Regions from separate parts of the Homo sapiens genome. Here all the other regions are linked to region 3. Evidence: promoter capture Hi-C in 16 types of primary human blood cells and fetal thymus (Javierre and others, 2016). All regions are on one chromosome and are shown on one strand. Each heading gives the region's core, a stretch centred on a gene start or on the middle of the fragment in contact. The rest is flanking DNA. Distances are from core to core; before and after follow the strand shown. Region 1 has its middle 46 kb from the start of OR6J1. Region 2 holds the start of AJUBA-DT (AJUBA divergent transcript). Region 3 holds the start of MRPL52 (mitochondrial ribosomal protein L52).

Region 1 (3,235 bases), core at 107-2,606, 140 kb after region 3:
GAAAGGCTATATTAAAAAGCCAAAAAACAACAGATGCTGGTGAGGCTGCAGAGAAAATGGAACACTTACACACTGTTGGTAAGAATGTAAATTAGTTCAGTCACTGTGGAAAGTTTTTTAAAGATTTCTCAAAGAACTTATAACAGAACTACCATTCAACCCAGCAATCCCATTACTGGGTATATATCCAAGAGAAAATAAACTGTTTTACCAAAAAGACATGTGCTTGCATGTTCATTGCAGCACTACTCACAATAGCAAGGACATGGAGTCAACCTAGGTGCCCACTGACAGTGGATTGGATAAAGAAAATATGGTACCTATATAACAAAGAATGCTATGCAGCCATTAAAAAGAATGAAATCATAGTTTTCTGCAGCAACATGTATGCAACTGAAGGGCATTATCCTAAGTGAATTAAAGCAGAAACAGAAAACCAAATATCGCATGATCTCGCTTATATGTAGAAGCTAAATATTGGGTACACATGGACAAAAAGATGGAAAAAATAGACACTGGGGACTACAAGATAGGGGAGGTAGGGAGTGGGGGAGAGGGTGGAAAAACTACCTATCAGGTACTATGCTCACTACCTGGGTGCTGGGTTCAGTCATACCCCAAACCTTAGCACCATACAATTCACCCATGTAACAAACCTGCATGTGTTATGAAAGTTATCACATTCTCTTGGGCTCCCACGCCTTTGCATATGCTGTTCTTCCTACTTGAAATGTTTTCCCGACCTTGGCCAAAAGCAGGTTGAGTTTTCCATTGGAAAACTTTTCTAAGTACTTCCCCCTTCCCTCCACCCAATCATACTTCTCTTGTCTATAAATAGTTCTGATATTGCACTAAATACTGTATCATCACTTCTGTTTTTTTCTTTGTATCCGCCTACTAACAATGTGACCCTGGACACATCCTGACAGCAGGAATTTAATCACATTTTTCTTTGTATTTCCAGCATCTGGCACAAGTACTTATATGGTGACATCATATAGATTGAAATGTTAACCATGATTTTGTTTTGATAAGCCACTGTGTGGAAAACCATGATTTTTTATGAGTATTTCTTATTCCTCTCAATTTGGGTAGGTAGACTGGGAAAGAAATGATGCAGAAGGAAGAGTAAAGCTTTTCTGAAGTTTAAGACTCATGGAGTGGAAAAAAGCTGATGGGTCAGAACATGCCTTTTTACTTCCTCAGATTCTGCACACTAGGGAGAAAGAGGAGACTTGAAAGAGAAGAAAGGACAGTTCAGAGCTAATGGGGCTCCAGAAAGGGGCATAGTGCTTTGCCTTTCCTAATTCCTGGCCAAGTCTGAAAGGGGAAATGATAGAACCACACATAGAGTTGTGGGTCTGAGAACAGAAAAAACTTGTGATTTGCTTTCTGGAAAGGGCCTTCAGGCAATGGCAATACCACAGAGGAGAAGAGGCTACATAAAGTTTCTAGGCAGGTGGGATTTTCAAGAGCATCAAGGAGTTTTCTGCAGCTCAGAGGTGCAGAAATAGAGTAATGAGGTATAGAGTGCCTGAGAGAGGTAAAGAAGTAGCAGGGAGAGCTGCCCAAGCTTCAAGGACCTCACTGAGAAGAATGAGGAGTGATGCACCAGCCACCTGTGTGGACTGACAACCTGGGACAGGGTGGGAGAATGCCAGAGGATAGATGGGCAAAGGACTGGCCATTTCCTAGTCCCTTCCCATCCTCCTCAGAACTTCAGCACAACTCTGAAGAAAAGTGTACTTGTGGGAGAACCCAGAATTGCCTGAGATTTAATTTCTGCCATCAGGCTAATGAGGCACCTAGGGAAATTAAGCTGAGTTTTTAAAATATCCAGAAAGTTAAATTTGTTGCACACGTGAGTCTCTGAACCCAGATGTGTATTTGCTTTACCTGGCATCAGGCAGTGTTATAACTCAATAAATTTATGTAAAATGTAAAAAGGAGTATCAAATTTCCCTAAATAAACTTTGCAATATAAACATAATTTATGTTATTAATTCTTTGTCAATAAAAATGTGGCAACATTCTGCTGCTCTGAGAGCTAGTGTCTCTTGGTCAATTACTTGATACAGTGGAAAAGACTTTGACCTTACAGTCAGATAAATATGGATGTATACACTGGCTCTGCAATCTGCTGGCTGGGTTACCCTTTCTCTCAGAACCTCATTTTACTCACAAAATAGGTGCTTAATATAGTTAGTTTCCTTCCTTTACCTTCTATTTTGTCCCACGATATCTCTGATAGTCTCACCTGTAGAGCTGCCATTACTATTAATATCAAATGGAATTTTTATTGATTATATCAATTAAATAAATTATTATTTTATTATTTTTTCACCATTTTGTTTTAAATTCATGTGTTAGTTATGTGTACTATTCTTTTTTTTTTTTTTGAGACAGGGTCTTGCTCTGTCATGCAGGCTGCAGTGCAGTGGTGTGATCTCAGCACACTGCAGCCTCGACTTGGTGGGCTCAAGTGATCCGCCCACCTCAGTCTCCCAAATAGCTAGGATTACAGGTGCATGCACCCACACCCATCTAATTTTTTTTTTTTTGGAGAGACAGGGTTTTGTCATGTTGCCCAGGCCGGTCTCAAACTCCTGACCTCAAGCAATCTGCTCACCTCAGCTTCTCAAAGTGCTGGGATTACAGGTGGTTATATCTACTATTCCAAAATAATATGTTTATACTACTATTTCTTGATTTATCTACTTTAAGCAATTTGATTTATCTACTTTAAATAACAGGTGAGGAATTTTGCTCACTTACAGTAATACTCTCCACAGGGCTGCTTACATGACTCATGACATGGCAGCTGGCTTCCTTCAGAGCGAGTGATCTGAGAGACAGCAAGTTGGAAGGTGCAATGACTTTTATGACCTAACTTTGAAATGCACACACCATCATATCCTCAATATCCTGTTGCTTATATGAGTCAGCCCCATTCAGTGTGAAAGGGATTACTCAAGGGCATGCATACCAGGCAAGATTGTACCAGAGAACTTATAAAGCTGTTGGTATGGTCTGAATGCATGGTCTGGCTAGTGGTCTATCTATTTGTTGATCTCTTCAAAAAACCAGCTCCTGGATTCATTGATTTTTTTGAAGGGTTTTTTGTGTCTCTCTCTCCTTCAGTTCTGCTGTGATCTTAGTTATTTCTTGTCTTCTGCTAGATTTTGAATTTGTTAGCTGTTGCTTCTCTAGTTCTTTTAACTTTGATGTTAGGGTG
Region 2 (2,919 bases), core at 224-2,723, 160 kb before region 3:
TGGAAACCGAACATGACCAGTGCAGGTTAATACCGCCACCTGGTGGGCAGTTTCAGTCATGAGCTTGAGTCTTCTGACCAAGGGAACACAAGTTCTATCACTATTGGGGAATTGGGTTCCTGATATAATAGCTATTGTTTATTGAATTACATGAGGAAAATTTTACTATTCCTATCTTACAGATGAGGAAATTAAGGCTTAAAGAGTTCCCGTGTCTCACCGGCAGCCTCTCTCTCACTATGTGACCAAGCAAAATACACAGCTTTGTAGCTGTTTCTTGGTCCTGTCAGCCAAGCTGTATTTTGAGGAAGGGGTGTGCATTTTGGATGGATTGAAAAGCAAAAATGGCTTTACATTTATTCAGTCTTATAACAAACATTGATCGCTTTACTAGGTGTCAGGTACTGTGCTATGGATACATTGTTGATAAGGTTGGATGCTGTTCAGAGATTTTTTTAGTTTAGTCAGGAAGCCAGGCAGTGGAGTAGGCAATGAAATGAACTGTGATAAGGGTGACCATGGTGGAGTGTAGTGCACTATGGCAATATACAGCAGGGGTAGCTAACCTACTCTTGCAGTCTGGAAAGGCTTCTTCTGAGAGGGTGTAATGTCTAAACTGGGGAAGAGTTAACCAGAAGGAAAGGGGAGGCTAAGAGAGTGTTCCAAACAGGGAACTGCAGGTACAAAAGTCCAGGGGCAAGAGAGAGTACAGACAAGGTCCAGTTCTACTGCAGACTTTTGGGGAAGGGATAATGCTAGAGGAGAGGCTGGAGAGTGAGACAGACCTCATAATACAGAGTACAGACTTCAACCCAAGGGCAGTGAGAAATCATTGAAAGTTTGTTTTAGCAGGGAAATAAAACGACAGGTTTTGCCTACAGGCAGTCCCCAACTCAACGATGGTTCGACTTAGGATTTTTCAACTTTACGATGGTGCGAAATGATTCAGTATGCTCCTCACCTTATGATGCAGTTATATCAGATAAACCCATTTTAAGCTGAAAATATGGTGAAGTTGAAGAAGCACTTCTGCCTTACGATATTTTCAATTTATAATGGATGGGTTTATTCAGACATAACTCCATTGTAAGTCGTAAAGCTTCTGTACTGAAAAAAATCACTTGACCTCAGGGTATAAGATGGATTGCAGGGAGCAAGCCTTGGCCAGGAGACTTTTGCATTGGTTTCGGAGAGGAAAGACGGTGACTTGACATATATAGTGGTGATGAGGGGAGGACAGATTTGGAAGATGTTTAGGAAGCAGAATTAATAGAACTTGGTGATTGATAGGACTTGGTTGGATTTGAGGTTAAGGGAGAAGGAGGACATAGGGTTGACGCTCAGATTTCTAGTTTAAGCAGCTAACAGGATTGTGCCATTTACTCAGAGAATGTTAGAGGAGCCAGTTTCATGAGGCAGAGAAGATGAGATCAGTTTAGGATATTGGGTGCTTCTGAGACAGCCATTGGAGATGCTAGTAGTTAGTTGAGTTTTTAATTCCAAGAAAGACTGGGCTGGAAATATGGATTAGGGAGTCACCTGCATATACAGATTATAATTAAAGTCTTGGGAACGAAGAGGGCCTTTGGAGATCCCAGCTCCAGTTTAGACTGTGGAGAGGCCACCTGAGGTCATGAGCACTATTGGAGCATGCCCTATTAGCATATGCGTCTTCTACTTCTTCCCCTTCACTCATCTCTGCTTCCAGTTATCCCTTGAAAACACAGGCTGTTCATCCCAGTTGTGCCCATTGCTACCACCAACTCTTGCATGGGCCTCCTTTAATGGCCTCCCAACATTTCATAAGATTTCCTCTCGCATCCTCACCCCAAAGGATCAAAGCTTCCAAATATTAGTAGTTGTGTGGATATTTTGGATGTAATTGGAAGGAAGAATCAAAGTTCTCCTTCCTCATCTGGACACAGGAAAGGAGGGAACACATTATGGTTAATTCTGAAGATGTTGCTCACAGCAGGTTCTAGATGCAATCCGATAGCTCCCCTCTGTTCCTAGTGCTTTCAGTCCTCCCTGCTTCCACTCTGGTAGGAAACTCTCCTCAGGATCAGAGAAAAGCCGTGGCCTTGACCAGGGAAACAGAGGCTGATTCTCAGGGGAGATGAGGTCAGGGAGACAATGCAACTAGGACGAAGAAGCCAAATAGTTTGGCACAAATTAATTTCCCAAAAGATATTAACCTCGTTTCTTTCCACATTCCCTAAGGCTACACTAAGATTATAAAAGGTGTTCAAAATGTTGAGATGAAAATAATATGCATGACTTGTTTGCATATAATTTTCATACTCATTTACTATCTAAATACAAAGGAGTCATTTTCCTTCTCCATTCTACTTCCTCCACCCCTTGCCCCTGATGTTTTAGTCTGGGCAAAAGTAGTTGGCTGGTTTTTAAAAAATTTTTTTGAGACGGAATCTCCCTCTATCGCCCAGGCCTGAGTGCAATGGCACAATCTCGGCTCTCTGCAACCTCCGCCTCCTGGGTTCACGCGATTCTTCTGCCTCAGCCTCCCAAGTAGCTGGGACTACAGGTGCACGCCACCACACCGGCTAATTTTTGTATTCTTAGTAGAGACGGGGTTTCACCATACTGGCCAGGCTGGTTGCAAACTCCTGACCTCGTGATCCCGCCGCCTCTGCCTTCCAAAGTGCTGGGATTACAGGCGTGAGCCACCGCTCCCGGCCGTTGGCTGGTATTTAATTAGGTATGTTTAGCTTCATCTAGGGTTTCTTTAAAAAAAATTATTATTTATTTTTGAGAATTTTTTTGAGACGGAGTCTTGCTCTGTCGCCCAGGCTGGAGTGCAGTGGCCGTGATATTGGCTCACTGCAACCTCTGTCTCCCGGGTTCAAGCGATTCTCCCGCCTCAGCCTCTCGAGTGGCTGGGACTATAGGCGTGCGCCA
Region 3 (2,946 bases), core at 219-2,718:
CTTGAGCTAAGGAGTACAAGACCAGCTTGGGCAACATAGCAAGAGCCTGTCTCTACTAAAAGTTAAAAAAAAAAATTAGCCAGGAATGGTGGTGTGTGCCTGTGGTCCCACCTACTTGGGGGGCTGAGGTGGGAGGACTGCTTGAGCCCAGGAGATCAAGGCTGCAGTGAGCGATGATCATGCCACTGCACTTCAGCCTGGGTGACAGGGCAAGACCCCATCTCAAAAAAAAAAAAAAAAAAAAAAAAGCAGTCATATGTAATTCCAGAGTCTTTCCAATAGTCCATACTACTACAAGGAGATGCCAGGCTTCTTACAGTAAATAACAAGTAGAAAAAATCTTCACCATCTTCCTCAGTCACCAATTATCCAATTAAGCAGGATCATACCCCTAGAGAGCAACAATAGGGTATTAAATATTCAGATCTCTGTGTTGTCAAGGAGGACTGGCCTATGTTCTAGTCCTGGATTTGCTACTACCTAGCTGTATGATCATGTGCAATTCACTTCTGTAGGCCTCAAATTTCCTACTTGTACACTGGAGTCTCATAAGGAGAATGGGGAGTAGCTTCAACTTCTCTAAGGTTCTCCCTTCTAGGGCTAATATTTATTCTCCCTCCCTCTCTCTTTTGTAAGTAAAGGTAAAAGAATTTTCTGAAGGGAGCCTGCCATCCATAGTCTTCATCCTTCTACCCCTCTGAGACGCTTATTTCTGCAGCTTTTCAAAGAGCTCTCCCTGCATTTGGTACCAAATACTGAAAATTCACTAACCACAGAGAAAAGTGGTTCTTGGTTAAAAAAAAATGTCCCCCTTTGAAAAACGCAGAAGTCTTGTCACCCCCTTCCACCCTGGCGGCCCCAAGTCAGAATTATCTTCTGCTTATCTCCACAAGCCAAGATCCTGTTTAGCTTTACCTTCCTTAGTCGAAATGCAATCTACAAAATAAACAAGAGGGTTTCTTTCCCCAAATTCCGTTTTCCAAATAAAAAGTTAAACACTTTTACACGCCCCCACCTTGATACCCCCAGCTCCCCGTCCAGGGGCGTTCCCTCTAGGTGAAAATCTCCCCAGTGGAGTTAACTGCCAGATCAGCGCTTACCCGCATATGACCAGTCTGGGAGCTCGGTAAGGGGCCCGTAGCCGGAGGGGTTGGCAGCCAGTCCCTGCCTGTGTGGAGAAAAACAGATCTGTGAGGACCTAGCCCAGCTTCTGGTCCCCCAGGTGCCCTCATCCCAGGACTCACTGTAGTCGCCACTGGCCGCCCGCCCAAGCGGCTACGCTGCAGTGCAGCCTCCGGACACCTGCTGGGAGAACAGAGCAGAGTTGGGGGAGAGGCCGCGCAGCCGGATCAGGGGTCCTGTGCCCGTCCCCAAAGGGCCCCCGAGTCCACGGTCCCTATCTATACCCACTCACTGAAGAGAACAGTCCCTAAAGCAGCCATGCTGAGCAGGAGTAGCCGGGGTAGCCGGAAGTAGGCGTGGCCTCGGTGGCCACGCGCGACGCTATCGGGGAAGCAGGAAGTCGCCATCTTGAATCTGGGTTTTCAATCACGGCTCCGCCATCTTGGGTCATCGTACGGAAGGAGAGACAAAACTGCAGTACAGGTTTTTGAGGTGAAAACGAATTGTCGTTCAGCGCATGCATTCTCAGTGGAAGTCGTGTCCTCCCAGATTAAGCCGTTCTGAACAGTTCCCACAACCTCCCTACAGCGGTCTCTAGTTCATTGAAATTGATATTAATAGTAACTTTGATCTCAGGGGTAACATCCACGTCATTCTACAGATCCTCGCATCACTGTAACACAGTTTTCCTAGACTAAGAAAAGTAATCAAATCTAGAGTTAATCGGAAATTGGGCCAGCCTGGGCAACATGGCGAAACTCCCTCTCTACAAAAAAATGAAAAATTAGCTGGGTGTGGTGGCGCATGCCTGTGGTCCCAGCTACTTGGGAGGCTGAGGTGGGAGGATGGCTTGAGCCTGGGAGGCCGAAGGCTGCAGTAAGCAGAGATCATGCCACTGCACTCCAGTCTGGGTAACAGAGCGAGACCTTGTCTCAAAAAAAATTCTGTGTGATAAGTGCTGTATTAGGCGTAGATTTTATGGAGAACAAAACCAGACATCAATATCCTGATAGAGCTCTCGGTATAAAAGAAACAAGACAGGCCAGGTGCAGTGGCTCACACTTGTAATCCCAGCACTTTGGGAGGCTGAGGCTGGCGGATCACCTGAGGTTGGGAGTTCGAGACCAGCCTGACCAACATGGAGAAACCCTGTCTCTACTAAAAATACAAAATTAGCCAGGCATGGTGGCACATGCCTGTAATCCCAGCTACTCGGGAGGCTGAGGCAGGAGAATTGCTTGAACCCGGGAGGCAGAGGTTGTGGTGATCCAAGATTGCGCCATTGTACTCCAGTCTGGGCAAGAAGAGTGAAACTCCAACTAAAAAAAAAAAAACAGACAATCAAATGATGACATACATGAATATTGTCATTGAGTGCTGGGAAAGGAAATACATGTTGTTTGTGAGTTTATAGTGTGAACTTGATCTACAGTAGACCATCAAAGATGACTTTCCTGAGAAAGGGGTATTGTATTGGAGCTAAGATGTGACATTCCATTTTTATAAGTGCTACCACCGCACATTGCTTAATATTATCCTTGCAACAACCCTGTGAGGTAGGTACTAGAAAGTGGCAAACCCTGATTGGCGACTCCCCTCCTTTTATCACTTGCTATTCAGTACTGTCTTGGAGAAGTCATTTATCCTTCATTTTTTAATTTTAAAAATGCTTAATATGTTACATTTGTGAAAACGATCTAAAAGTGATAATGTGAGTGAAAGTGCTTTATAAATCCTGAAACTCCTACAAAAGAGCCCATTAACTGTCTGCCAGGTGTGAAGGGAAAATATCTTGGTCCTCTTCAAGCTGAGAACCTGGGAACC

What was found. Contacts are between HindIII fragments. The CHiCAGO score rates a contact against its expected background, and 5 or more counts as called.
Region 1: a contact is called between a fragment that was not itself captured here and the fragment with the promoter of MRPL52 in region 3, in 3 of 17 cell types (endothelial precursors, M2 macrophages and M0 macrophages). The highest score is 6.8, in endothelial precursors.
Region 2: a fragment that was not itself captured here is called in contact with the fragment with the promoter of MRPL52 in region 3 in 1 of 17 cell types (erythroblasts); the score reaches 5.3 in erythroblasts.

The regions. Positions count from the first base shown.
Region 1 is chr14:22,689,055-22,692,289 of GRCh38, reverse strand. No RefSeq gene overlaps it. Among named protein-coding and RNA genes, the nearest start is that of OR6J1, 46 kb to the right of the region's middle. The HindIII fragment of the contact is 439 bases long and covers 1,137-1,575 here.
Region 2 is chr14:22,983,872-22,986,790 of GRCh38, reverse strand. It overlaps C14orf93 (chromosome 14 open reading frame 93), which reads left to right. Exons shown (of 7, transcript NM_021944.4): 7 at 1-897. It overlaps AJUBA-DT (AJUBA divergent transcript), which reads right to left and starts at 2,467. Exons shown (of 3, transcript XR_007064074.1): 1 at 1,971-2,467. RefSeq lists a silencer at 1-60. The HindIII fragment of the contact is 743 bases long and covers 1,102-1,844 here.
Region 3 is chr14:22,828,409-22,831,354 of GRCh38, reverse strand. It overlaps MRPL52 (mitochondrial ribosomal protein L52), which reads right to left and starts at 1,468. Exons shown (of 5, transcript NM_180982.3): 1 at 1,415-1,468; 2 at 1,245-1,302; 3 at 1,101-1,168. The coding sequence starts at 1,442. RefSeq lists an enhancer at 1,485-1,564. The HindIII fragment of the contact is 15,350 bases long and covers 1-2,946 here.